2 separate regions of the Homo sapiens genome follow, and region 2 is linked to region 1. The links are contacts of gene promoters, found by promoter capture Hi-C in human tissues and cell types (Jung and others, 2019). All regions are on one chromosome and are shown on one strand. Each heading gives the region's core, a stretch centred on a gene start or on the middle of the fragment in contact. The rest is flanking DNA. Distances are from core to core; before and after follow the strand shown.

Region 1 (6,456 bases), core at 1,043-3,542:
GCTGGGGTTACAGATTGATAACTCATTGGCATAGAGATGCTTTTTAAAGCACGAGATGGCATAAGATCAGCTAGGGGAAGTGGGGACCCTGGAAAACCTCAGAGTCAGATGGAGAAGGAACCTCAGAGTCAGGAAAGGTGGGAAGGGGCAGGGCTGGGCAGGAACCAGGAGAAGGTGTCACCAAAGCCAAGAGAAGACAGCACGGCAAAGACGGGGTGACAGCTGTGACAAATGCTGCCGAGGGACTGAGGAATGTGAGGGTGGCCCAGGGTTTGGTCACAAGGAAGTTGATGGGATCTGAGTCTTGGAGATGGGAGCTGACAAAAGAGAAAGTGCGCTTGTGGTGTAGACAGTGTCTTGAGACTTCCTGTTATGAGAGAGAGCAGAGAAAGAGGCACTATCCTGGAAGGAGCGTGGCCTTGAAAGAGAGCTCTTGTTTGTTTAAGATGAGAGATATTACAGCACCTCCGTATGTGGATGGGGGAGATCAGGCAGAGAGGAAATATTTATCTTGTAGGAGAGTGAGAGGACAATTGCAGGAGCAAAGTCCTTGAGAGGGGCTGGCCTCTCCTAGACAGGACCAGAGTCAGGATGGGGCTGGCAGCATCTGTGAGCCAGAGGCAGGTAGCAGGGCCAGATACGGTGCACAGAAGACAGGGGCTCCTAACACATCCCAGTCTCACCAACAGGCATGGCTTCTAGCACTGACTCAGGATTTCCTGTGTGACCTGGGCAAGTTACTGAATCTTTCTGTGCTGTGCTTCCCCAGGTCGAGGGGAATTGGGAAGAAATCAAAATCCCTGTCTGGCTTCCCTCCTGGGGTTAACACACTTGCCCCAGCCTGTCGGAAAACCCATCTGATGGGTCCCTAGCACTGAGATGCCACCGGCTTTGGCCTGAGATGAAGGTCATCTCAAAGGTCAGCTGGGCCTTGTTACTGACCAGGTGTCAGGGGCCCAGGGGCTGTGCCACTATCACCCCCAGTCTCTCACCCCTTTGGGATACCATGAACAAAAAAGTCTGACTCAATTTCTCTATCTATGACAAAAGGAAGAAAATGGCTTGATGGGCAGTTCTGGGGGTGTGGGGTGGGGCAGGAGGCAGCAGGGTGGAGAGAAGACATGCTTTGGCACCAGATCACACCCCCAGCTCTGAACCTCCCAGCTGTGTGATTTGCCAGAGGCCGACTGACTGAAGATTGAACTTCAAGGCCTTCCCCCTGGACCCTTCCCAAAGCCCCAAACTAATTTCAGATTAATACTTTTGTGTCCTTTTTCTTACAGAGTGGGGCCCAAAAGTGTATAATATCCAAGTTCCATGAAACTTGGATCTGCCCTGGGACTTTGACTAAGTGACTTAACCTCACCTTCCCCATTTGTCAAATGGGACAGTCAGGCCTGACCTCTTAAGATGGTGGAAAAGGTTACTGGGTGCCTAGGGCAGGGCAGGCATTGGCGGCTTGATTTAATGAGAGATGAAGTTATGACTTCTGCTGGGGGCGGAGGAGGAGGCAGTGACGCCTGGTTGTGCCCAGCTCCCCCTCCATCCAGGGCACAGTTTTTGTGCTGTCTACCTGCAGCGGTCCCCTCTTCCAACTCCCACCCCTCCTCCTCCACAGACTTAGCCCTTGAATCCACAGGTGAACTCTTTCTCTTCCTGTTTATGCTCTTAAAGATGCAGACCGCCTGCAGCCAGCTTTCTCCTATTCTCCTTCCAACCCTCTTCACTCTGCTGCTGCTTACCCAGCCGTCCCCTCCCCACAGCCAGCCCATCTCAGCCGCCATGGAGCCCAGTCCAGGGCTAGGTGGGCACACAGTAGGTAGATCAGCTCCATCTGCCCCCCTTGCATCTTGTTGATGGAACTGGTTTCCTGTTTCCTAGGGCAGTAGGTTGCAAACCCACCTAAGTAATTCACGCTGGGCTCCTACAACTGGGTGCCAAGCAAAAGCCCCTTTGACCTCCTAGCCCTCAGTCCTCAGGAGGAGCAGGGGGCGATAGCCTCACTTCCAGGGCAGGGGCAGTGAGGAAGTTATGCTGGATCCTAAGGATGCCCAACCCCGGCCCAGACAGTCCCTCCTCTGCCCCCTGGAGTTATCTGTGCTCAGAACACCAAGTCCTTACCTTACTGGGGACGAGGATGGGCAGAGGCAGCAGGAGAATGGGCACGAAGAACACGATCAGGTAGGAGCGATAGGCCCACAGGGCCTGCCAGCAGGTGGCCATGGTGTGGAGCAGCAAGGGCTGCTACAGCCACTGCCTCCAGGAGCTGGGTAACAGAAGGACCAAAGATGCAGCCAAGCAGGCAGGTGGCAGGCTTATATAAAGCCAGTTGAGTGTTAACCATTGACCCAGTCTGGCAATCAGAGTGTTTTTGGAGTTGGGGAGGTGAGAGTAAGGAGGAGGGACCCACAGGCGGAGTAAAGATCAGGAAGGGAGAGGGAGAAGGAAGGAGGAAAGAACAAGGATTAAAAAACTTCAGGTTCCTTCAAGAAGTTAATCCCAGCGTTAACTCCTTCTGTTCTTGGAGGCTGCTGAGGGTGGTGCTGGAGGAGCTGGAGAAGGAAGGAGAGTCCCCCAGCCACCCTCCACAGGCAGCCCCCAAGCCACCTCCGCTGGCCCGGCCTTTCCTTTCTGCTGTTCTCCAAAGCTAGGTTCTCAGCTGAGCACTTTATGTGACAGCCTGGGTGGGGTGGCCCTGCCCTGCCCACAGAGATGCCCTAGGAATTTTCAGTCTAAGATTGACAGTAGCTAAGGCCTGGAGCAAGTCCTCCTCCTCCTCCTTCCAGGTATCGAGGACCATCAAAGTCCCTGGTCCTGACTACATCTTGTGTGACACTGATCCACCGACTTAACCTCTCAGAATTAGCCACTTCCTTATTCTGCAGTAATATCTTGCTATTGTGAGGCTCAAATTAGACAACTTATATATGTTGAGCTTTGATGCATGGCAGGTGTACGATGAAGGTTAGTTTCTTTCAGGCTCTTCCTAGCCCCCTCGCCCCCCAGCAAAGATTGTCTCTTATTTTGGAAACATACTAGATCTCTCATTTATCCATCATCCATCCATCCATCCATCCATCCATCCAACCATCCATCCATCCATCCCTCCACCAAGCAAGTATTTAGTACCAATTATGTATTCAGCCCTGTGCTCAGTGCTAAAGATACAGAGATTAAAATGCTGCTGCTGCTGCTGGTGGTAAAGACTGACATTTGCTCAGCACTTAGTACAAGTCAGTTACTGTACTTCATCAACTCGGTAACTACACCATGGGTTAGGTGTTACTATTCCATTTAACAGATGGGGGAACTGAGGCCAAAGGACATGGAGCCAGCCAGAATTCACACATGCATTATGGGTATCCTGAGGGAGGTCCAAACCAGGGCAGAAGCTCTGGGTGAAAGGCACCAGGCAAGGGCTCCTGGAAGAGATGGCATCTGAGCGAAGGCTTGAGAGCTCAGTCTTACTTGGCACGAGGTGATAGGGGAAGGGGCACAAGGAGAGGGAAGAGTGAACGAAGGCCTGGAGGGTGGCAAGTGCATGCGTGTGTGTGTGTATGTATGTTGAACGGAGCAAGTTGTAGTTTGGAAGAAATTGTGGGTCTTATCTCTGGCCAGACCCTCAGTCTCCTGGCGCCCTCACCCCTCCTCACCCTGACTGCACGCAGTTGAAGGTCAATGCATGTTTCTGAGGTTATCAGAGTATGATGATCCGTGTGTGCTAGGATAAGGAGGCGGGGTATCAGGGAGAATGTTTCAGGCAGCGAAGACAGTCTGGGAAGAGATGCAGAAGCGTGGGGACGTTTAGAGAACAGAAGGTTCTGCGTGGTTGGAATGTGGATTTGCGGGGGACAGGATTAAGAGCTGATAACTATAGTTTTAGGTGTACCATAGCATGGCCTGGGCTGTTATGCCACCGAGACACTCCTGGAGCCAGTGGATCTTTTAGAGAAAGGCCCCTGGTGCTTTCTGCAGGGCGGTCCTAGAGGTCAGAGGGATCCAGTTCGAGGGCTCCTGGAGCGAGGCCAGGCTGGTGGGATGCTACAGTAACAGAGTACAGGCTAGCCACCCCAGCCCCCCTTCAGGCATGGCTCCTTCACTCCCACACAGTGGCCTGCCACCTGCCCAGGGCAAAGTAAGCAAGAGCCAGGAAGGACAGGGAGAGACAAAGGGTTTCAGACACTCAGGACAATGCCCCGATTCTATCTCACCTTGGTGGAAGCCTCTCCCATGGCCTGAGGCTTTTAAGGAGCCACAAAAAAAAAAAAAAAAAAAAAAACCAGGCCCAGCTTCACCATGTGTAAAATCTGCATCCCAGTTTACCTAACTCTCCATACCAATTCTGTGATGTAGGCTCAGGGCAGTGAGGTTACTCGTCTAGAGTCACACACCTTGTGAGTAACAGAGAGAATGCAGATTTGTTTCCAGGAAGGCTGTGCCCTTGGCTCAGCCCTCCATTCTCTGGTCTCCTTTGATGGAGCTGGGACAAAACTCAATGTTTTACTGAGACCCTCTGGCTTCCCCCTACAGCCCTCTTCTAAGACATAGGCTTTTGGGACCTTCTTTGATTCTTTTTTGAGGCCCAGCACTGGGGGGCTATTGCATCACCAGCAGCCAGGCCCCATCAGTGATGAATTCATCTCAAAGCAGTGATGAATTCCCAAGGCCAGCGGGAAGACTCCAGCTGTCATATTCATTACAAAAACTTCCCCTTTGCCTGGGAGTCATGGCCAGGGCCCCACTCTGCCAGGTCTTATTCAATATTCCCTTTTGCCCCACCCCCTTCTCCTTTAATTAATGCAGCAGATAACTGTGGTTTTTTGCATGGCTCCTAATGAACTGTGAGTAACATACGGTAGTTGCCTGGCTGGCTTCTTCAGTCTTTGCTGGGGCCTTCCCTGTGATGGGTCTCTGTACTATCTCAGGAAGGAGTCACTACCAGGAAACACCTACCCTGCACTTTGTCCATTGCCTCTCCTGGACAGGGCTATCGGAGATTGGCTGCAAGTCCTTGGGGGAGAGGAAATGGTCTCTGGCTTGCAAGAGCCAGCTTGTCCTCAGAAGCAGGTGGCTGATAAGCTGGAGATAGAGCTGGGGCTGGGTCACAAAGGTGGCTTTTAGGAAGTTTATATCTGAACATGTGAGGCAGGCCTTAAGACAGGGGCCGTTGAGGCAACCCAGCATTGTGCAGGCTGGGCCTGGGGCCCACAGGGGCACAACTCCAGGGATCCTAGAAAGCCAGGATGGCTGGACATATTAGGGAGCATCAGGAATGATTTCTAAGACCTGAGACTGCCCAGCCTAGAGGAGAGAAGATAGGGTGTGGGCAGGGACAGTCATCAAATCCTTGATTGAAGAAGAAGGGATGTTCTCAAGGACAGACAGGATCACAGGATAGGGGGGCTAGGGAGGCACCTGGGCTGTTTTCAAGAAGACCACCCTCCCTCGAAAAGAAGTGCCCCTCCTGGGTGGCTGGCATGCCCTGGGGAACGGTGGACTCGGGGGTTGGGCATCGTGTTTACAGCTCTGAGAATCCCAGACCCCAAATCCGACTCCAGGTGCTCTGACCACTCCCCTCATCTTCCATTGCCTCTCCAACTGGGTCCACAAATTTTTTGTTTGTTTGTTTTGTTTTGTTTTGTTTTGAGACAGAGTCTTGCTCTGTCGCCCAGGCTGGAGTGCAGTGGCGCGATCTCGGCTCACTGCAACCTCCTCCTCCTGGGTTCAAGTGATTCTCCTGCCCCAGCCTCCCGAGTAGCTGGGACTACAGATGCGTGCCACCACGCCCAGCTAATTTTTTGTATTTTTAGTAGAGACCGGGTTTCACCATGTTGGCCAGGATGGTCCCAATCTCCTGACCTTATGATCCGCCCGTCTCAGCCTCCCAAAGTGCTGGGATTATAGGCATGAGCCACTGTGCCCAGCCACAAAATTTGTTTTATACGTGTTCAAATCCACCCCCCTCTGCAACTCGCGAGGTGCTCAAAAGGTGCCTAAATGTCCCTATAAGATCCAGTTCTCCCTTTCCTCTTTCGCCTCAGCCCTCACCACTCCTGCCTGCAGTCAACAATATGCCAGACTCAATTGTTTTCAGATCCTCAGTTGGGTCCTGCAGTTTGTAAAATCTCCAGGCAGTTCCCACGCTCTTGCTTCTCCTAAGCATATTCTCCCTGACTCCTCCTCCTTACCCTACTGGTTCAGTCTTGTTTACCTTTCAAGCCCTAAGACCGAACTTTCTTTGTGAACTCTCATCACAGACAGGATCAGGACCCCTGCAAAGTGCCCTAGATATCAAAACACATGTCACGCTGCATTGCATTCTCCTGATAACCCATCTCTGTCCCCCACAAGACTACAGGCTCCCTCCGGGCACAGACTGTCTGGACGGACCTGGCACAGAGCTGGTACTCAACAAGTACGTGTTGAAAGAATGGATGGCTGGATGGGTGGGTAGAT
Region 2 (6,456 bases), core at 1,403-3,902, 39 kb after region 1:
CCCAGGCTGGAGTGCAATGGCGCGATTCCGGCTCACTGCAACCTTTGCTTCCGAGGTTCAAGCAATTCTCCTGACTCGACCTCCCGAGTAGCTGGGATCACAGGCATGTGCCACCACGCCCAGCTAATTTTGTATTTTTAGTAGAGACGGAGTTTCTACATGTTGGTCAGGCTTGTATGGAACTCCTGACTTCAGGTGATCTGCCCACCTCGGCCTCCCAAAGTGCTGGGATTACAGGCGCGAACCACCCACGCTCGGCCTCCAACCTCGAATTCTTTAACCAAACAAGCTATTGCTTCAGTGTGAAGGTAGAATCAGACAGTTTCAGATATGCAATATCTCAGAAGTTACTTCATACACCCTTTCTCGACAAGCTATTAGAAGTTGTCCTCTACCAAAATGAGAGTATAAATTAGGAAACAGCAAGTAGATGCATGAAATAAGAGATACGACACAGAAGGGAAGGTATGGGAATTTCCAGAATGATGACAAAGGCAGATCCTAAGATGACGCTTGTGCTCCAGAGAGGACAGCTTGTTCACGTTGGAGCAGTGTGACTCATGAGGCACGTGGACGTAATTGAGGGTTATAATAACCATGCCCTCTGCTAGTGAATGTGACCCACAAAAAGGAAGTAAATCGGCCGGGCGCGGTGGCTCACGCCTGTAATCCCAGCACTTTGGGAGGACGAGATGGGTGGATCACGAGGTCGAGAGATGGAGACCATCCTGGCCAACATGGTGAAACCCCGTCTCTACTAAAAATACAAAAATTAGCGGGGTGTGGTAGCGCACACCTGTAGTCCCAGCTACTCTGGAGGCTGAGGCAGGAGAATCACTTGAGCCCAGGAGGTGGAGGTTGCAGTGAGTTGAGATCTGCCACTGCACTCCAGCCTGGGCAACAGAGTGAGACTCTGTCTCAAAAAAAAAAAAAAAAAAAAAAAAAAAAGAAGAAGTAAGTCAAGGAGGAAGGCATGAAACCCAACTCAGGAAAAAGGGAAAGAGTATTACAAGGCGATAACAAGGGAAGACCCTAGCAGTGCAGCATGTCCAGAGATCAACTAGCCTAGATTGAAGAAGATTCAAGGTCTCCTTGATGGAGGAAAATAAAGCTCTCCAAGAAATGATATGGAAGTGATGGATCACCTGATGTGACTAAACTTTTGGAAAATTGTACCAAGAGGCTTTTAAAAAATGTTTTATTTGTTCATTTTTATTTTAGAGACAGGGTCTCACTTTGTTGCCCAGGGTAGTCTCAAACTCCTTAGCTCAAGCTATTCTCCCAGCTCAGCCTCCTGAGTAGCTGGGATTACAGGTTCAAGCTGCCGGGCCTGGCTCTCAAGAGGCTCTTAGATGGTGTGAGAAGGGTTAGTGATACATACAAAGGAAACCAAGCTAATGAAAACACTAGGCAATTATTAACTTTAGGAAAAAGCCAAAACTAAGAAAGGAATCATAATCATCATATACATTACCCAACTATGAATATTTGCATGAACATTCTAATGTAAACACTGAATCTTGATTTAATTTAAAATTATAATATAATCTTATTTGATTTAAGAGAGCTAAATCTTTCCAGTATAGTTATATTGTATTCAAATTATACTCTAATACGAAGTTGATAGCTGAAGTCCAAAATTGATGAATAAAATATGAATGTGGCCGGGTGTGGTGGCTCATGCCTGTAATCCCAGCACTTTGGGAGGCGGAGGCAGGTGGATCACCTGAGGTCAGGAATTGTAGACCAGCCTGGGCAACATGGTGAAACCCCTTTTCTACACAAGTACCAAAAAAAAAAAAAATTAGCCAGGCATGATGGTGGGTGCCAGTAATTCCAGCTACTCGGGAGGCTGAGGTAGGAGAATCCCTTGAACCCAGGAGGCAGAGGTTGCGGTGAGCCAAGGTCACACCATTGCACTCCAGCCTGGACAACAAGAGCAAAACTCTGTCTCAAACAAACAAACAAACAAACCAAAAATGAATTCGAGGTTGGAAATAATTTTTCTTCAGAATTTTGAAGTTATTGCTTCATTGCCTTTCTGCTTCAAGTATCTCTTCTGGGAATTCTAAAGTCATTCTGGTTCCTGATCTTCTTGTGAAAGCTTTTTTGTTTTCATTTGGGAAACTTGAAGGTTATCTCTTTGTCTTGAAGACCCTACAATGTGACAATAATATGCACTGGAGTGGGTCTATTTTAACAATTATGCTGAACATTCTGTGGGTTCTGTCAATCTACATCCTCCAATTCTGAGACATTTTCTTGAATAATTTCATTGATGTGTTCTTCCCTTTAATTTTTATTTTCTCTCTTTTTGGATTATTTGGATTCTGGGCTTCCTGGGCTGTCTCTCTCTTTTTCCCATCTTTTCTTTTTGCTTTAGTATTTTAGGGATTTCCTCAACTTTCTCTCGAGTTTTGCATTTCTACTACCACTTTTTTTTATTATTTTAATGCTTTTTTTAATAGCATCCTGTTCTTGTTTCATAGATGTAATATTTTCTCTTATCTCTCTAATGACATTAAAAACAGGTTTTTTGTTTTGTTTTGCTGAGATAGGGTCTTGCTATGTTGCCCAGGCTGGTCTCGAACTCCTGGGCTCAAGGGATCCTCTCACTTCAGCCCTCACGAGTAGCTGGAACTACAGGTGTGTACCACTGTGCCTAATAACAGGGTTGTTTGGAAATTTGGAGGTTTTTTTCTTGTATAGTTTCTATTTCTTCTGAGTGCTTTTCCTGTTTGCTTTAGTCCCTCCCTACAATGTTAGAGGCTTATCTCAGGTCCAGGCTTATCTCATAATCCATGGTCATTTTGTTATGATTAAGAGTGGGGAGAGTGGCCGGGTGCAGCGGCTCACGCCTGTAATCCCAGCACTTTGGGAGGCCAAGGCAGGCAGATCACCTGAGGTTGGGAGTTCGAGACCAGCCTGACCAACGTGGAGAAACCCTGTCACTACTAAAAATACAAAATTAGCCGGGCGTGGTGGCACATGCCTGTAATCCCAACTACTCAGGAGGCTGAGGCAGGAGAACTGCTTGAAACTGGGAGGTGGAGGTTGCGGTGAGCTGAGATCGTACCATTGCACTCCAGCCTGGGCAATAAGAGCAAAACTCCATCTCAAAAAAAAAAAAAAAAAAGAATTGGGGAAAAATTAGATACTCTGAGTCCATGAAGTCACAGTGAGTTTCACTGTGGTGACCTGGATTGGTCATTTGTTTGGAAACCCAAAGTTTCTGTATCTTTGGGTCTTTTTTCTGTGACTGTTCATATTCCTCAGAAAAGACTCTTCTAATCTTCCAATTAAAGGATATAGGTTTCACTTTAGCATTCTGGGAGCCCAGTGGCAGAAAAGGGTTAGGGGAAGTCTTAGCTTTCAGTATGTCTACAGTCACATAATCCCAACTTGCAGCGTGTCTTCAGCTGTGCTCATCAGCCTCCCTCCAGGCAGAGACCTTCTGTTGTTCCTTCTTTCAAGAATAATCCCCCAGTCATCTGCTAGGGTTAGGAGAGGCAGTACTGCCATGGTGTGGAATACTGGAGGGGATTTGGCATCTAACTACTTCTCAGCTTTTACCTAATCCTCCTTATTTTAAATTCCTCTCTCATACCCTCTCCAATTTTAGAGTTGCCTGTAGTTTCCAATTACTAAGTATTTTGAGGATTCTATGGTGAGAATGTGGTTGGTGGCCCACTGCTGTCTCAGAATTCTTCTCTATGTTGTTAAGTCATTTGGCCCATATGTTCATGTCTTCCAAACTGTTACTGTTGTTGTCTTCCCTTCCCCAACTCTTCTCCCTTCCATTAATTTTTTAAAAATAAATATTTAAAAATATATATTGAGACCAGGCGCGGTGGCTCATGCCTGTAATCCCAGCACTTTGGGAGGCCGAGGCAGGCAAGACTTGAGGTCAGGAGTTCGAGTCCAGCCTGGCCAACATGGAGAAATCCCGTCTCTACTAAAAACACAAAAATTAGCCAGGTGTGGTGGTGGGCACCTGTAGTCCCAGATACTCGGGAGGCTGAGGCAGGAGAATTGCTTGAGCCCAGGTGGTGGAGGTTGCAGTGAGCTGAGATTGTACCACTGCACTTCAGCCTGGGAAATAGAGTGAGACTCAGTCTCAAATATATACATACATATTATATATATATATATATATTATATTATATATACATTATATATACATATATACCATATAATATATTGTATAATAATATAATATATATTGTATAATAATAATATACTATATATATATTATATATACCACTTTAAATTGGGGCTTTTGGTTGGAAGTGAGATAGATTAGTTGTGTGTGCACCTTAACTTGGAAGATTAGTTGATTTTGCATCTTAACTTGGAAATATCTTACTTTTCAAATTTAATTCTTCCTCTCCCTCTTTGGTTTGGAGGTTATAAACTCTATTTCCCCTCTTTTAGAATATTAATCATTTGACATGCATACTTTATCTAAAATCTAAAATTATTCAAGTTCTCTACCATTCTCCTCATACCAATCATCCCCTTTTGTCTCATATAGTCCATTATCTTATTTCTATCTAGTTATTTTTCATAGCTTCCCTCAAGTTAAACATTATTATTTATCTTTTGTGCAGTTAATGTTTGATATACCTACTTGCTTATCAATTCATTGGCACACAACTCCTTCTTTCATCCCAAACCTTTTTTCCAGGATCACTTATTATCCTACATGGACCTATGAATTGAATGATTTGCGTCTTTCATGAATTCTGGAAACGACTCAGCCAATACCTCTGCAAAGAGCTGGGCATGGGCAACATAGCAACACTCTGTCTCTAAACATTTTTTTAAAAGGTCTACTCTAGACGCTCCTCCTAGAATTCAGAGTAGACCTATGTTAGACTTCATACTTTATTCTATCCTGTAGGTTTTATACCTCTATTTTATTTGCCTTTGTGCTGAATTCTGAGTATTTCTTCAGCTCTATCTTCAGTTCTTCATTTCACTAATTCACTCTTCATCTGTGTCCAGTCAACACAGATGATGTTTAGCCTGTCCTCTGAATTTGGTTTACTTTTATAAAAAAGCAAAACACAACAAAGCCAAATTTATCTATCATCTATCTATTTGAGACAAGTAGGAGAGAATGGGGTGGAGGAGAGTATATGGCTAAGAGAATTTTTTAAAAGATGAGATCAATTTAGCATGCGTAAATGCTGACAGGAAGGACCTGAGAGAGAGAGAGAGAGTCCAGGTTTTCCTATTCTTCCACGTGGAGTAGATATGATCCATTAGCAACTGTTGGATCTTCTATTGTTAGGCTTGGTTCCTAATTGTGATCCACAGCATCTATTCTACCTGATTTAAGCAGAAAGAAAGTTATTGGTAGATATCAAGTGGCTCAAAGAGGGCTGGGCATGGTGGCTCATGCCCGTAATCTCAGCACTAATCCCAGCACTTTGGGAAGTCAAGGTGGGAGGATCACTTGAGCCCAGGAGTTCAAGATGTGGCAAGACCCCATCTCTACAAAAAATAAAAATGTTAGCTGGGTGTGGTGGAGTGTGCCTGTAGTCTCAACTACTTTGGAGGCTGAGGCAGGAGGATATCTTGAGTCCAGGTGGTCAAGGTTGCAGTGAGCTGTGATTATGCCACTGCACTCCAGCCTGGGTGACAGAGAAAGACTTTGTCTCAAAAACATATAAAAAAATAAATAAAACAGTGAAATCACCAACAAAAAGCACAAAAATGTAAAAACCATGGCACTAAATAGACCTTGAGGGACATATTTACATTATGAGCTGAAACAAGACAGCAAAGTGTTGCTTTGTTTGACCTCAGCTGGGAATGTGTATTGGATAACTCAAATTTTCACTACATTGTATATGACCCTGAATGACCCCAAAATGCTGAGAAAGTGTCAAGAGTATTAATTTTGAGTCACACATAAATTTTAGCAAGTAGGAGAATTTGCAAATACAAAATCTCCATGTAATGAAACTATGCTAATGTTGGAAACCATTTGGGAAAAGGGGCTCTATTTCTGCCGGGGGTTGGGCTGAGAGGACAGGACCTAAGCTGGGCACTGCCTAGTTGTAGTTCCTTCATTCTTGCTGTATGATATCCCATTGTGTGAATACCCACAATTTATTTGTCTGTTCTACCTGTGATAGACATTTGGGTTGTTTCTAGATACTTGGCTGTCTTAGTCAATACTTGACATTTTCTGTTTTTTACAAAATTTTTTTTAGCCATTCAGATGTAGTAGTATTGGACTGCGGCTTCAATTTGTACTTCTGGTGATCAATGAGATTGTACAATGTTTAATGTTTTTTAGCCATTTGGATGTTTTCTTTTGTGAAGTGTCTGTTCAAGTCCTTTGCCCATTTGTAAAAATTGGGTTTTCTATCCTTTTCATACTGATTTTTAGTTCTTTAGATATCCTGAATATGAGTTCTTTGTCAGTTAAATGTACTACAAATA

Evidence for each region. Contacts are between HindIII fragments. The study calls those that stand out against the background at their distance.
Region 2: a fragment that was not itself captured here is called in contact with the fragment with the promoter of SLC13A2 in region 1 in 3 of the 25 tissues and cell types used here (IMR-90 fibroblasts, dorsolateral prefrontal cortex and stomach).

The regions. Positions count from the first base shown.
Region 1 is chr17:28,469,480-28,475,935 of GRCh38, reverse strand. SLC13A2 (solute carrier family 13 member 2) reads right to left here and starts at 2,292. Exons shown (of 12, transcript NM_003984.4): 1 at 2,122-2,292. The coding sequence starts at 2,223. The HindIII fragment of the contact is 27,138 bases long and covers 1-6,456 here.
Region 2 is chr17:28,430,870-28,437,325 of GRCh38, reverse strand. No RefSeq gene overlaps it. Among named protein-coding and RNA genes, the nearest start is that of SLC46A1, 28 kb to the right of the region's middle. The HindIII fragment of the contact is 3,392 bases long and covers 957-4,348 here.